Regions from separate parts of the Homo sapiens genome. Here regions 1, 3 and 4 are each linked to region 2. The links are contacts of gene promoters, found by promoter capture Hi-C in blood cells and fetal thymus (Javierre and others, 2016). All regions are on one chromosome and are shown on one strand. The core of a region is centred on a gene start or on the middle of the fragment in contact, and the rest is flanking DNA. Distances in the headings are between cores, read along the strand shown.

Evidence for each region. The method cuts DNA at HindIII sites, captures the fragments that hold promoters and counts their contacts. A CHiCAGO score of 5 or more calls a contact.
Region 1: a fragment that was not itself captured here is called in contact with the fragment with the promoter of NPHS1 in region 2 in 4 of 17 cell types (M0 macrophages, M2 macrophages, erythroblasts and 1 more); the score reaches 7.1 in M0 macrophages.
Region 3: a contact is called between a fragment that was not itself captured here and the fragment with the promoter of NPHS1 in region 2, in 5 of 17 cell types (M0 macrophages, M1 macrophages, M2 macrophages and 2 more). The highest score is 10.0, in M0 macrophages.
Region 4: the fragment with the promoter of FFAR3 here is called in contact with the fragment with the promoter of NPHS1 in region 2 in 10 of 17 cell types (neutrophils, total B cells, fetal thymus and 7 more); the score reaches 11.7 in neutrophils.

The regions. Positions count from the first base shown.
Region 1 is chr19:35,487,537-35,491,180 of GRCh38, reverse strand. KRTDAP (keratinocyte differentiation associated protein) reads left to right here and starts at 717. Exons shown (of 6, transcript NM_207392.3): 1 at 717-825; 2 at 2,341-2,379; 3 at 2,478-2,519; 4 at 2,696-2,740; 5 at 3,422-3,469. The coding sequence starts at 739. The HindIII fragment of the contact is 3,143 bases long and covers 1-2,902 here.
Region 2 is chr19:35,851,254-35,854,749 of GRCh38, reverse strand. It overlaps NPHS1 (NPHS1 adhesion molecule, nephrin), which reads left to right and starts at 2,246. Exons shown (of 29, transcript NM_004646.4): 1 at 2,246-2,970; 2 at 3,078-3,293; 3 at 3,366-3,488. The coding sequence starts at 2,913. It also overlaps a transcript of KIRREL2 not described here. RefSeq lists enhancers at 2,318-2,959, 2,960-3,496. The HindIII fragment of the contact is 3,857 bases long and covers 1-3,496 here.
Region 3 is chr19:35,554,121-35,557,629 of GRCh38, reverse strand. It overlaps ATP4A (ATPase H+/K+ transporting subunit alpha), which reads left to right. Exons shown (of 22, transcript NM_000704.3): 12 at 542-717; 13 at 1,818-1,954; 14 at 2,040-2,190; 15 at 2,296-2,464; 16 at 2,554-2,708. Among named protein-coding and RNA genes, the nearest start is that of ATP4A, 7.8 kb to the left of the region's middle. The HindIII fragment of the contact is 254 bases long and covers 1,320-1,573 here.
Region 4 is chr19:35,356,728-35,360,603 of GRCh38, reverse strand. FFAR3 (free fatty acid receptor 3) reads right to left here and starts at 2,144. Exons shown (of 2, transcript NM_005304.5): 1 at 1,955-2,144; 2 at 115-1,724. The coding sequence starts at 1,713. The coding sequence ends at 673. RefSeq lists an enhancer at 296-823. The HindIII fragment of the contact is 8,969 bases long and covers 1-3,876 here.

The DNA.
Region 1 (3,644 bases), core at 82-2,581, 360 kb after region 2:
GTAGGGTGGAAGAAAAGGCCTGAATGAGCATGGAGCGCAGGCTCACACCTATAGTCCTTTGGGAGGTCAAGGCAGGCGGACCCCTTGAGTCCAGGAGTTTGAGGCCAGCTTGGGCAACATGGCGAGACATTTTCATCTCTACGAGAAAATTAAAAAAAAAAAAAGCTGCAACATCTCTACAAGAAAATAAAAAAGTTAGCTAGGTGAGGTGATGCGTGCCTCTAGTCCCAGCTACTAGGGAGACTGAGGTGGGAGGATTGCTTGAGCCTGGGAGGTCAAGGCTGCAGTGAGCTGTGATCACACCACTGCACTCCAGTCTGGGCAACGAGTGAGAGCCTGTCAAAAAAAAAGAAAAGAAAAGAAAAGAAAAAGCCTGAATTCTAAGAGAGGAATGAGGGATATAACGAAAAGAGACAAAGACAAAAGGAGAGGTTGCTTGGGTACCACTGCCAATCCCTTGGAGGGACAGGTCCAACCTGTCTCTGTCCCAGCCCCATCTGCATGAAGAGACCCATTGCAGTGTTACCTTCCACGTGCCTGGGGCAGAATGCGAATTGAGAAATCCGAGGCAAATGAGGAACAGTCCATGCCTCCCCCTCCCAGAGCCCCGGGGGTGGGCGACAAGATCTGGGGGTGAGTCAGTGGGGTGGGGACCCCATTTCTGTGCTCATCTGCCTCCTTGGCAATATAAAGAGCAAGCACTGAGGCCCCGCCTCAGAGCACCCCAAACTTGACGCCATGAAGATCCCGGTCCTTCCTGCCGTGGTGCTCCTCTCCCTCCTGGTGCTCCACTCTGCCCAGGGAGCCACCCTGGGTGGTCCTGAGGTGAGCACGTCACCTGCATTTTTATTCTTATACGTGTTACCCACCTACCCCTCCATCTCTCTACCTCCTGTCCATTCCTGGATAAGTGGCTCTTAGTTTTGGATTCTGATGGGGGCTGAAGAAACTGGGGCTCTGAGGAAGGGAGGAGGGAACAGAGCATCCCTGGGGAGACATTTGGGACAGAGATGCTCCTCTTTCTGGAAGGGATGGTGAAGTGTGTTGGGGAGGCTCGTGTACTGAACCTTGGGACTGAGTGGGTGGTCTGGGTTCAGACTATCTCCACCATGGGCTCTCAAGAGTGTTCACCCATTCCGTTCCAGCTGCACACATGCCTGGGGACGTGCAGGGGAAGAGGGGGAACTGGAGAACGGCAATGTGAGGCAGAGCAGCTCCAAACCCAGGCCTGCATCCACATGGGCAGCAGGTGGAGAGGGTGAAGCAAAGCAAAAAACTAGCTAGTTCTGCCTGCAGCTGACTTAACTCAAAGAGGAGTGGGGCTGGGGTGTTCTGGAGACACCCCTGCTTAGCTCCTCTTTGCTTCATTTGTGCCCCTGGGAGTGGTGCCCAGGTGACGGGTGGCTCCCTGCTGTCTCTGGAGCATAGGCCACAGTGAGAATCTTTACCATCCAGTCCTCAGCCAGAGAGGAATCCTGATGCCTATTCCGGATTTAAAAGTCTAAGACAGGGGCACAGGCTCAGCTGCTAAGGACCAAGCCAGTGGTGTCACTGAGCTGGGGGGGCTGTCAGGGCCTGAGGTGAAATGGGGCCAACTTTCCCAGTCTGAAAGGGCAGCTTTCACCCCACCTGACGCCATGGATTGGGAAGATGTGCCTAGAGTTTTACATTTTTCAGGGGAAACTAGAAATCTGGATGAATTTATGAATTCTTACTAATTCAAAATGTCTAATTCAAACCAAAAAACAAATGACCAAATTTTTATGAGATCTAAGCATCTGGATCCAGCCTGCGGGCTCCGTGTTGGGCTCTGTCATGGGGAAGACACGATGGGACACACTGAGGCCTGGGGTGGGGTCCCCATGGAGGGGGATTATGGAACCTCCAACAGTGGTGGCAATAAATCCACAAAGCAAAGCAACCTCGATCAGTGAGAGGCAGGCGGGTCACCTCAGCAGCTGGGCTCCCACCTGCTCGCAAATCTTTCCCATCCAGCTATACGGACTGAGCGTGGGTGTCTCCAGAACACCCCACCTCTTAGACTTAAGTCAACTGCAGGACAGCACTAGCTAGCTTTTCCGGAGAGGAATGCTCGGCTCCAGGCTTTCTGCCTGCTGCCCATGGTGACACTGCTTACATGTACCATTCTCCAATTCCCCCTCCTCACCCTGCACATCCGCCAACCATGTGCGCGACTGGAACGGAGACCATGGTGGGGAATGGGTTGCGTTCTTTCGGGGACTGGGCTGTGGATGAAGGCAGAGCTGGCAGACAGGGATGTGGGCAAGGGCCCTGGCATCACGTGACCCCCTGCCGCCTTTTCTCCCTCTCCTTTTCCAGGAAGAAAGCACCATTGAGAATTATGCGTCACGACCCGAGGTAAGCCGTCTGTTTTCCCCGGCCCTCCAGCCACGAGTCTGTCCTCTCTCTCTTTTTGCTTCTTAGCAACTTTCCTAACACCCTGCGTTTCTGCCTAGGCCTTTAACACCCCGTTCCTGAACATCGACAAATTGCGATCTGTGAGTACGCTTCTCTGGTGCTACCCCCACGAATACCCTCATCACAGAGGGGATAAACGCCTTGGTAGAGAGCTTGCAAAGCTGCCACGGTTCCTTCACCTTCTCCAGAGGGCTGGGGGCTAAGCTCTGGCCTCCCCTGGAGCTGACCTGCTTCTGCTGTCTCTCTTCCTCCTCAGGCGTTTAAGGCTGATGAGTTCCTGAACTGGCACGCCCTCTTTGAGGTGAGTGCTCCGGCGCCCCTTGCCCTCCTCGGTTGTCTGCAGTCATCCCAGGGTAGTGGCCACACATTTTGGCTTTAAATGTATGGGTTGGTTCCTGATCTCTGGGAGGGAGTGACTGTCCTGCCTGGATGCTGCCCAATGGGCTGTCAACGGAAGAAAGCTTCCCCCGGCGCCAGTCCTGGCTACCCGTGTTTTCCTAAGATGGTGGTGGAGGAGCAGGGCCCCAAGGACAATTGCAGAAGAGGAAGAGGCTAATCGGTCAAGATTTTATTTGAATCCCCTCATCCTCTATGGAAAAACTGAGGCCCACCCGCACTTAGAAGGCAAAGTCAGCGACAGAGCTGGGGCCCGCGTCTCCTGACTCTGCACTGACTTCTCACATGGCCTCATGCGAACGCCTTCAGCTCCCTCGGCCTCCGCTTCCTCTGTGATGTGGGGATGATGACAATTCCCACCACAAAAGGTTGCTGTAAAAACCCACTGAAATCATGCTTGTAGAGCAGCCCGTGCAAGGCAGACACAGACTAAGGCCTCAGGAAATATTAGCTCTTGATAAAGTAATGACAAAATAATGACATTATTGTTACTATGGTTACTGTGGGAGTTCATTAAGGGAATGCTTACCCATCCATGCCCGGCTGACCTGCAACACATCACTCTCTTTCTCTTTCTTTCTTTTAGTCTATCAAAAGGAAACTTCCTTTCCTCAACTGGGATGCCTTTCCTAAGGTAAGAGGTGTGGGCATTAGGAGGGTATGGAGCTTGGGGGTAAGGGAAGAAGCAGAAGATATGGGAGAGAGAGTGGGGACAGGGAAAGGAGGATCAGCCTTCTCACCAAACTGAAGGGAGGTCTTAGCTACTACATATAGAGGAGAACGGGAACTCACACCGAGGCAGAAATTCC
Region 2 (3,496 bases), core at 997-3,496:
GAAACAGAATAACAGAGACATATAGAGATGGAGAGACACAGTGAAATAAAGATTGACTGAGATTTAACAACTTAATATAGAGAGCGAGAGAGTCTCAAACAGATGGAGAAAGATAGAAAGATAAATCAGCTGGGCACAATGACTCACGCCTGCAATCCCAGCACTTTGGGAGGCCGAGTCAGGCTGATCACCTGAGGTCAGGAGTTCGAGACCAGCCTGATCAACATGGAGAAACCCCGTCTTTACTAAAAATACAAAAAATTAGCCAGGCGTGGTGGCGCATGCCTGTAATCCCAGCTACTAGGGAGGCTGAGGCAGGAGAATCGCCTGAACCCGGGAGGCAGAGGTTGCAGTGAGCCGAGATCACACTATTACACTCCAGTCTGGGCAACAAGAGTGAAACTCCATCTCAAAAAAAGAAAAAAGAGAAAAAAGAAAAAAAAGAAAGATAAATCAAGGGCCAGGTGCGGTGGCTCATGCCTGTAATCCTAGTACTTTGGGAGGCCGAGATGGGAGGATTGCTTGAGCCCAGGAGTTCCAGACAAGCCTGGGCAATATAGCAAGACTCTGTCTCTGCAAAAACATTTAAAAAAAATTAGCCAAGTGGCGGGGTGCAGCGGCTCCCACCTGTAATCCCAGCACTTTGGGGGGCCAAGGCAGGTGGGTTACCTGAGGTCAGGAGTTCGAGACCTGCCTGGCCAACATGGCGAAACCCCGTCTCTACTAAAAATACAAAAATTAGCTGGGTGTGGTGGTCAATGCCTGTATTCCCAGCTACTCAGGAGGCTGAGGCAGGAGAATCGCTTGGACCTGGGAGGCGGAGGTTACAGTGAGCCAACATCGCACCATTGCACTCCAGCCTGGGTGACAGAGCAAGACTCCCTCTCAAAAAAAAAAAAAAAAAAAAAAAAATAGCCAGAGTGGTGATGCGGGCCTGTAGTCCCAGCTACTCAGGAGGCTGAGGCAGAAAGAACACTTGAGCCTAGGAGGTTTGAGGCTTCAATGAGCCATGATCACACCACTGCACTCCAGCCTGGGCAATAGAGAAAGACCCTGTCTCTACAAACAAATTTTAAAAAATTAGCTGGAGTGGTGGTGTGCACCTGTAGTCCCAGCTATTCAGGAGGCTGAGGCAGGAGGATCACCTGAGCCCAGGAAGTTGAGGCTGCAATGAACCAAGATCATGCCACTGCCCTCCAGCCTGGGCAACAGAGCAAGATTCCATCTCAAAAGAAAGAAAGATAAATCAAGATAGATAGAGGGAGGGAGAGAGAGAGACATGGAGAAGGAAAGAAGAGATGGGAGAGAGGGCAAGAAAAAGAGGGAGAAGAAAGCTCATGCAGTCCTTGCCAAAGGGCGCCCACTTTGGGCTCACACTGCACCCACACTGGGGGCCGGTGGAATTGGACTCTGCCTTTTACTCCCGCCCACACCCTGTGCACTCCCACGTAAGACACTGTCACACACACGCTCTCCACATGCTTATTACAGATCGCAGTTCACTCTAACCTTCCCCACTCTCACACCCACGTACACACATGCATATCTTCCCTCTCTCCCACACTCTCCCAGCCTGTCACACTCACTCTTGCATCCTCCCCAGCAGAGATCCCTGACATCATTTAGGCACTGATGTCTACTAAAAAAGGAAGGGAGGCCAGGTGCGGTGGCTCATGTCTGTAATCCCAGCATTTTGGGAGGCTGAGGCAGATGGATCACCTGAGGTCAGGAGTTCGAGACCAGCGTGGCCAACATGATGAAACCCCGTCTCTAGTAAAAATACAAAAATTAGCCAGGCATGGTGCTATATACCTGTAGCACCAGCTACTTGGGAGACAGAGGTGGGAGAATTACTTGAACCTGGGAGGTTCAAGCCATGGGAGGTGGAAGTTGCAGTGAGCCGAGATGCCACTGCACTCCAGCCTGAGCAACAGAGCAAGACTATCTCAAGAAAAGAAAGAAAGAAAGAAAGAGACTTGCCAAGGTCATGTATCAGGGCAAGGAAGAGCTGGGGGCCCAGCTGGCTGCTCCCCTGCTGAGCTGGGAGACCACCTTGATCTGACTTCTCCCATCTTCCCAGCCTAAGCCAGGCCCTGGGGTCACGGAGGCTGGGGAGGCACCGAGGAACGCGCCTGGCATGTGCTGACAGGGGATTTTATGCTCCAGCTGGGCCAGCTGGGAGGAGCCTGCTGGGCAGAGGCCAGAGCTGGGGGCTCTGGAAGGTACCTGGGGGAGGTTGCACTGTGAGAATGAGCTCAAGCTGGGTCAGAGAGCAGGGCTGACTCTGCCAGTGCCTGCATCAGCCTCATCGCTCTCCTAGGCTCCTGGCCTGCTGGACTCTGGGCTGCAGGTCCTTCTTGAAAGGCTGTGAGTAGTGAGACAAGGAGCAGGAGTGAGGGGTGGCAGGAGAGAAGATAGAGATTGAGAGAGAGAGAGAGAGAGAGACAGAGAGAGAGGAAGAGACAGAGACAAAAGGAGAGAGAACGGCTTAGACAAGGAGAGAAAGATGGAAAGATAAAGAGACTGGGCGCAGTGGCTCACGCCTGTAATCCCAACACTTGGGGAGGCCAAGGTGGGAGGATGGCTTGAAGGAAAGAGTCTGAGATCAACCTGGCCAACATAGTGAGACCCCGTCTCTAAAAAAAAAAAAAAGAAAAAAAAAAGAAAAAAGAAAAAAAAGTTTTTTTAAAGAGACAGAGAAAGAGACTCAGAGATTGAGACTGAGAGCAAGACAGAGAGAGATACTCACAGGGAAGAGGGGAAGAGGAAAACGAGAAAGGGAGGAGAGTAACGGAAAGAGATAAAAAAGAAAAGCAGGTGGCAGAGACACACAGAGAGGGACCCAGAGAAAGCCAGACAGACGCAGGTGGCTGGCAGCGGGCGCTGTGGGGGTCACAGTAGGGGGACCTGTGATGGCCCTGGGGACGACGCTCAGGGCTTCTCTCCTGCTCCTGGGGCTGCTGACTGAAGGTGAGTGGGATCCCAGCCTTGTACCCAGCGCCAAGTGGCCCCCATTTCCCACTTACCTTCCCTAGACAAACCCTCTGCCCTTTCCTTGCACCGCGCTGTGTCCTCAGGCCTGGCGCAGTTGGCGATTCCTGCCTCCGTTCCCCGGGGCTTCTGGGCCCTGCCTGAAAACCTGACGGTGGTGGAGGGGGCCTCAGTGGAGCTGCGTTGTGGGGTCAGCACCCCTGGCAGTGCGGTGCAATGGGCCAAAGATGGGCTGCTCCTGGGCCCCGACCCCAGGATCCCAGGCTTCCCGAGGTACCGCCTGGAAGGGGACCCTGCTAGAGGTAAGGGATCAGAGCCTGAGACCCTCAGCCACCAGCGGAAGCTGCGGCCCTGACTTCCGGCTCCCCCTGCAGGTGAATTCCACCTGCACATCGAGGCCTGTGACCTCAGCGATGACGCGGAGTATGAGTGCCAGGTCGGCCGCTCTGAGATGGGGCCCGAGCTCGTGTCTCCCAGAGTGATCCTCTCCATCCTGGGTATGGGT
Region 3 (3,509 bases), core at 197-2,696, 300 kb after region 2:
ACTCCAGGTGCGAGGAGGAGCTAGCACAGACCCTGCCCACCACTCCCGGCCCAGCCCTGACCGTCCTCATCCCTGGCTGCTGGCTGATTTGTCGCAGTCCACAGCCTCACCCTTGACTTTCCCTGTACCAGTCCTGACCCCTGTCTGTCCTCACTTTCTACCTTGACCCCAGTCCTCACCTGGACTTTTATCCGTATCCTGACCTCTAACCTCTCCCAATTTTTGTCCTGACGCCTTAAACTTCGCTGCCTCTACCCTAGAAAGCAGATCTGTGGTCCAATTCTGGGCCTTTTACTTGCTGTGTGACCTCTGGCAAGAAATGTCCCCTCTCTGAGCCTCAGTTTCCTCATCTGTAAGATGAGAATGGGCCTCACAGGGTGGTTGTGAGGGTAGATTCAGATAATGTGAGTGAAGGGGTCAGCACAAGGTCAGGCATCCATAGGTGTTTGGTGCAAGGGGCCTGGTTATTTTACCCATTTCCTGGCCCTGCTAAGAAAGGGTGTGCCCAGGGCTCTTCCCTGACTTCCCCGTTTCCGGTCAGGCTTCTGCCAGCTCTACCTGAATGAGAAGGACTACCCGCCTGGCTATGCCTTCGACGTAGAGGCCATGAACTTTCCATCTAGCGGCCTCTGCTTTGCGGGACTTGTATCCATGATTGACCCACCCCGGGCCACCGTCCCTGATGCTGTGCTCAAGTGTCGCACCGCAGGCATCCGGGTATGCCACTGTGGGGAGGAACAAGTGGAGTGAGGACAGAGGATGGCAGCAGGATTTGGGTTGAAGAACCCCATGACAAACCCACCTGAAACTGGCTTGAACCAAAATGCATTGGTTTATGATACTGAAAAATTCTGGGGAATTAAGCTTCAGGTCTAGCCAGATCCAGGAGCTCAGTGTCATTAGGAATTTTCCTTTCTCCATGTCTCAGCTCTGCTGTTCTCTTTGCTGGCTTTATTTGCAGGCACTCCCTTCACTTGGGGACACACACACCCCTGCTCCAGCAGCTCAAACTTAACTCCCACCTGCTTAGCCACCCCACAAAAAGAGAGTGCCTCTTTTGCAGTAGCACTGGATTGGGTCACTCATTTATCCCTGAGCCAGTCACTGGGGCTGGGGGATGGAAGACCTTGATTGGCCAGGTCTGGGCTTACTTACCCAATCTTAGCCAGGGACCTCACTGCAACTGATGGTGTAGGGGAGAGGAGTGGTTCCCCAAACACAAAACAAGGGTGGGAAAGCCAAGGCCAGGCAGGCAATGCCCAAGCCCTTCCCGTGTCTCTACGGCCCTGTTACATCGGGCCTTGTTACCTTTCTAAGCTTGTTCGTTAGCCCTCTTTCCTTGTTCACTCCTCTGCAGTTATGGTGTCCTCCCTGCTGTTCCTCCGACAGTTCGGGCCTGTCCTCACCTCAGGGCCTTTGCACCTGCTGTTCTCCCTGCCAGGAGCACTCTTCTCCCAGCTTTCCACGTGGCTGACTCTCTCACCTCTTACAGGTCTCTGCTCAGATATCACCTTCTCAATAAGCCCTTCCCTGGGTACACTTAAAATCGAGTCACCGTTTCCTTCACCAAGCTTAATATGTTTTTTTCCACTTTCTAACACACTATATAATTCGTTTCTTTATTTTCTGTCACCCTCACTAGAGCTCCTCAAGGACAGGGATTTTTGTCTCTTTTGTCTCTGCTATATCCCAGGCACGTAGGAGGTGGTCACGCTTGGTCAAGTAAATGAACACGTGTATCAGCAGATGTCTCCCAGGGAGGACAGGGAGATTGGGCTGATCTGAAGGGGTCAGTGATCCACTGGTTCCCCCTACAGGTGATCATGGTAACGGGTGACCACCCCATCACCGCCAAGGCCATTGCAGCCAGTGTGGGCATCATCTCGGAAGGCAGCGAGACAGTGGAGGACATCGCTGCCCGCCTCCGTGTGCCCGTAGACCAGGTTAATCGCAAGTAAGCCCCCCCAGACCTCCCCGGGGTTCTCCCCACATCTGGCACAGACCGAGGTCCCAGCGAGGTCCTCCCATCTCCTCCCCAGGGATGCCCGTGCCTGTGTGATCAATGGCATGCAGCTGAAGGACATGGACCCATCGGAACTGGTCGAGGCCCTGCGCACCCACCCCGAGATGGTGTTTGCGCGCACCAGCCCCCAGCAGAAGCTGGTGATCGTGGAGAGCTGCCAGCGGCTGGTGAGCCCTGCTGATGAGGGTGGGCAGGCGGGCAGACAGGCGGGGCTGGTCTTGGACCGGCCTCTCACTGACCACCCACCCACCACCTGCACCCACTGCCTGCAGGGTGCGATTGTGGCCGTCACGGGGGATGGTGTGAATGACTCCCCAGCTCTGAAGAAGGCAGACATCGGAGTAGCCATGGGCATCGCTGGCTCAGATGCTGCCAAAAATGCAGCTGACATGATCCTGCTGGATGACAACTTTGCCTCCATTGTGACAGGCGTGGAGCAGGGTCCGAGCCACGCCAGGGGGAGGGCAGGCAGTGTGGGCACAGGAGGGAGAGGGCTGTGAGGAGGCTGAGGTGCCCACCCTACCCCACAGGTCGACTGATCTTCGACAACCTGAAGAAGTCTATTGCCTACACATTGACCAAGAACATCCCAGAGCTGACACCCTACCTCATCTACATCACCGTCAGCGTGCCCCTGCCCCTCGGGTGCATCACCATCCTCTTCATCGAACTCTGCACTGACATTGTAAGTCCACAGCCCAGGGTACCCATCCACAGGGTGCCCAGAGACACTTGCTTGCAGATGGACAGGAGGGACAGAGACCACCACAGACACTCTTGGGCACAGAGTGACAGACAAGACCTGTGTGTGCAATGACAGCCAGTGCAGGACACATGGGTGGCAGGCAGGTGAACAGACCTAAATGGACATACAGCCATGCACACACAGGCGGACACTCAGGTAGGCCCGGGCCGACCCATGCACACACATGACTCAGATACAGATACTCAGACAGAGATGGAAACAGAACAGGTATCTGGCCAAACTTGAATCACAGACACGTGCCCCTAAACAGACACGGACAAATAAACCCCCTCAGATAGACCCCATGGCAGACAGACAGAAAAGAACCACAGATACAGTCACGAATGCAGCCAGAGGCGCAGCTGTGTTGACAGGTATTTATTCGGTAACATTTACACAGTGCTTTCTCTGGGCCAGACACACCATCATTTCCTTAATTTTGTACTCATAACCACACTATGAGATGAGTTTTGTTACTATCACCCGTACTTTACTGATGAGCTCATCAAGGCATAGACAGGTAGAGTGGATTGTCCCAGGTCACTGGGCAAATAAGTGGCCCGGCTGTGACTTGAGCTTGAGCAGTCACAGGTCCCACAGCCTGTGGTCGTGGTCAGTATGCTCTGCTGCCACTCTAGGCACAAGCAGATGAAGGGGCACGGCGACACTGAGAGACTGAAGATACACAGAGATAGGGAGTGACACAGAAATACACAAGAGCAGATACAGTCACAGAGAATT
Region 4 (3,876 bases), core at 895-3,394, 490 kb after region 2:
TGGTGTTTGGCCCTTTTCCTCCAGAGTCTGGTGTTTTCTCCTTCCATCCACCAGTCCCACCCGGCCCAAGCACACCACCAGAACAAAACAGGAGAAGAAGGAAACACTGTTCTCTTTTGCTTGCTTCCACATTTATTTGGGTAATTTTTCTTCTGTCATTGTTCATAAATGTCTCTGATGATCCACATTTATTGAGCAATGGGAACTTTCTGGAAAAGGCGCTGTGGGAGCAGAATGCGGCCTCATCCCTGGAGCCCTGTCTCCCCCGCTCCTGACTCGCTGGCTGGGAGCAGCTCTGAGGATGGGGTTCTCCCCTCTCCTGCCCCTGCCACTCACTGGGCAGCCCCCTCAGACCCTGGGCACTGCTCTTAGCTCCTCTGCCACCCTCAAGAAAACACAGGAGCTGCCTGCTGCTATGAGGACCTCATTGTTCTCCAGAGCAGCCTCTCACCCTGACCCCTTCCCAGAGCCCAATCCATAGTGTGTGGGTGGATGGGGATGGAGGTGAGATCGAGAGCTGGGCTTTAGCGCGCATACCCTTAGGGAGGCTAGATGTCTACTCTGCCCCCAAGCCCCATCGGGCCCCAGCTCGCCACTCCAAGTCCCTCCTGGCGTGAGCGAGGAAGCGCCCTGAGGATGACATGCCAGCTACACCCTCCTCCCCCGGAGGACCTAGCTTTCAGCACAGGCCACCTGGCCACCAGTTCCACAGCCCTGTGAGTGTTCACTGGTCTTTCTTTCAGCTGGTCGGTCCGCTCTCTGCTCCTCCCCTCCCTTCTGCTCCTTCAGCTCCATGCTGCTCTCCTGCTGCCACTGGCCCCAGAGCCCACACAACCTCCTCAGCAGCTCATGAAAGTCGGCTTGGAACCCGGAGGAGGAGAAGTAGTAGACAAAGGGGTCGACACAGGAGTTCAGGGTGCTGAGAAGCGTCACGTAGATCCTCCACGCCGGGCTTTCACCGCAGATATAGCCCACGACATGGGACACGTTGTAGGGCCCAAAGCAGACAAGGAAGTTGAGCAGCGTGGCCGCCAACAGCCCCGCCACCCTCCTCTGCCGGCGGTGGCTGCCCCCTCTGCCGAGGATCCACACCAGGCGGCTGTAGCAGTAGCTGGTGATGATCAGCGGGACCACAAAGAGGACCACAGCCATCTCCAGCCGCACGGGCAGGAGGATGGCTAGCTGGTCCTTCCGGAACTCCAGGTAGCAGGTCCCATTGGTGCCCTGGCTGTGGGAGATGTCCCCTGAGAATTCTATGACGTAGACCACGCTGCAGTGAGCAGAGGCCAACAGCCAGCAGGCCACACTCACCAGACCTGCCTGCCCCAGCCTCGGCCGGGTCTTGTACCACAGTGGGTGGGCCACACTCAGGAAGCGTTCAATGCTCACAGCTGCCAGGAAGAGGGCGGTGAGATAGATGGTGGTGAAGAAGATGAATCCAGAGAGTGGGCAGAGGATGAAGGGCAGGGGCCAGTGCATGCCATTGGCTGCCTCCACCATGCGGAAAGGCAGGAACAGCAGCAGGAGCAGGTCCGAGGCGGTCAGGTTGAGCAGGAGCACGTCCACGGCCACCGGGCGGCGCTGCAGCTTGCCCACGAAGACCACCAGGGCCAGCAGGTTGAGGGGGAGCCCCACCAGGAAAGTGAGAAGGTACACCGAGAAGACGAACCAGTGATTGCCGGAGAAGTAGGACTGGTCGGGGCCTGTATCCATGGTGGTGGCCACTGGTGAGAGAGAGTAACATGGAGTTGGTAGTGGGGGCCCTAACGGCCTCTGGCCAGCAGCATCTCCCCTAAAAGGGCACGAGGTCACTACGCCCACCCCTCTTGTCTCTGGGTGCCTTCCAGGCGGGGTCAGCCTGCCTGTCTTCCTGAGCATGCCCTGTCCCCTGTCCCTTCCCCAGCAGAGAAGCACCAAGGTGCTCCTCCACCCAGCCCCTCGGGCCCAGGCTCACCTGCTTCTTTGAGACCCCAAATGCTCTGCCGCACAGCACCTTGCTGTCTCTCCAGACCTAGTGCAGTTGGCTATTTATCCGGCAGAACTGATAAAGACCTGGCCGTGCCCATGACGTCACTCACTGTTGAGCAGTGGCACATAGATGCCTTGAGCTCCGTTGCCAGGGCTGGTCAGCATGCTAAAAGGGGAACAAATTCCACAACTGCGTGCCTCCCTCCTCATGCAGTCTCAGCTGGGATGCTCTAAGCAGGCCCCAGCCGACGTCTTCCTCTCCCCTTCTTCACTTGAATTTTGTCTGCTTCTCTAGAATGGCATTTATCCAATTTGCCTTGTAAGGGCAGGAAGTGTGATGCAATGACAGAGAGCGAGCTCCGTGAGGTCTGTTTCTTCCTGACTTTGTGATTTGGGGGAAATGACTTAAATTCTCCATGTTTCTGCTTTCTCCCCTGCAGAACAGAGCTCATCATAATACCCATCTCATAGATCAACGCATTAACACATGCAAATTAAAACAATATGTAGGTCGATTAAAAGATTACTAATACATGTTGAGTGGTTTGACGGAAGCCTGGCGTGTGGTCGTGAGCAGGCAGCGGATGCCAGCTGCTATTTTCCCTGTCACTGGTGCAGGATTATCTCTGGGGTGACAATGTAATAATAATAACAATAATAATGGTGGTGGCGATGATGACAGCAGCTGCCTTTTCATGGGCACATAATCCATAGCAGACACTGCTTCTAGGGCAACGCTTTTATGTCATAAAATCCTTGTCCTTCACCGTAGGGAAGTGACTTGCTCCAGGTGATACAGCTTGTGAAATGTCACCACTAGGGTTCAAACCCAAGTGCTGTCCAGTTTCACAGGTGATCTATTAGTTCATTCAAACAATCACAGGGCACAATGAGATATGATTTCACATCCACTAGAATGGCCACAAGCAAAAAGTCAGACAATGCCTATGGTCGGCGAGAATGTAGAGAGATAGGGGCCTCATTCACTGCTGGTGAGAATAATGGGAGGTGGTGTCCCTGCTTTGGAAAGCAGGTGGCAGTTGCTTAAAAAGTTAAACATAAATTCACCATGCGATCCAACAATTCCACCGTAGGTATTTACTTAAGAGAAGTGGAAACTCAGGTCTACTTAAAGACTCAGTCCTAAATGTTCACAGCAGTGTTGGTCATAGTCACCAACAGTGGAAATGTTACCTGGCAGCCCATCAGCTGGTGAGTGAATAAAAAAGTGGCACATCCATATACTGGAATTCTATTTGGCAAAGAAAAGGAATGAGCTACCCATACACACTACAGCCTTATGTTGAGTGAAACAAGCCAGACGTAAAAGACCATGTACATATATTGTCAGATTTCATTTATTTATATGATATGTCCAGAATAGGCAAAGTTATAGAGTCAGAAAGTAGACTCGTGGTTGTCTGGGGGATGGAGGTAGAAATGAAGATTAAGTTGTTTTTTTTTTTTTTTTTTTTTTTTTGAGACAGGGTCTTGTTGTCGCCCAGGCTGGAGTGCAATGGTGCAATCTTGGCTCACTGCAAACTCTGCCTCCCGGGTTCAAGAAATTCTCATGCCTCAGCTTCCTAAGTAGCTAGGATTACAGGTGCCCGCCACCACGCCTGGCTAATTTTTGTATGTTTAGTAGAGATGAGGTTTCGCCATGTTGGCCAGGCTGGTCTCGAACTACTGACCTCAGGTGATCCGTCCACCCCAGCCTCCCAAAATGCTGAGATTATAGGCGTGAGCCACCCCGCCTGGCCCAAGATTAAGTTTAAATGAACATGAAGTAAAATCCTTTACTAGGGTCATGAAAATGTTCTAAAACTAGCTGATGGTAATGGACTCACACCTCAGTAAATTTACTAAAAATCATTGAATTGTACACTTAACATTGGTGAATTTGATGAT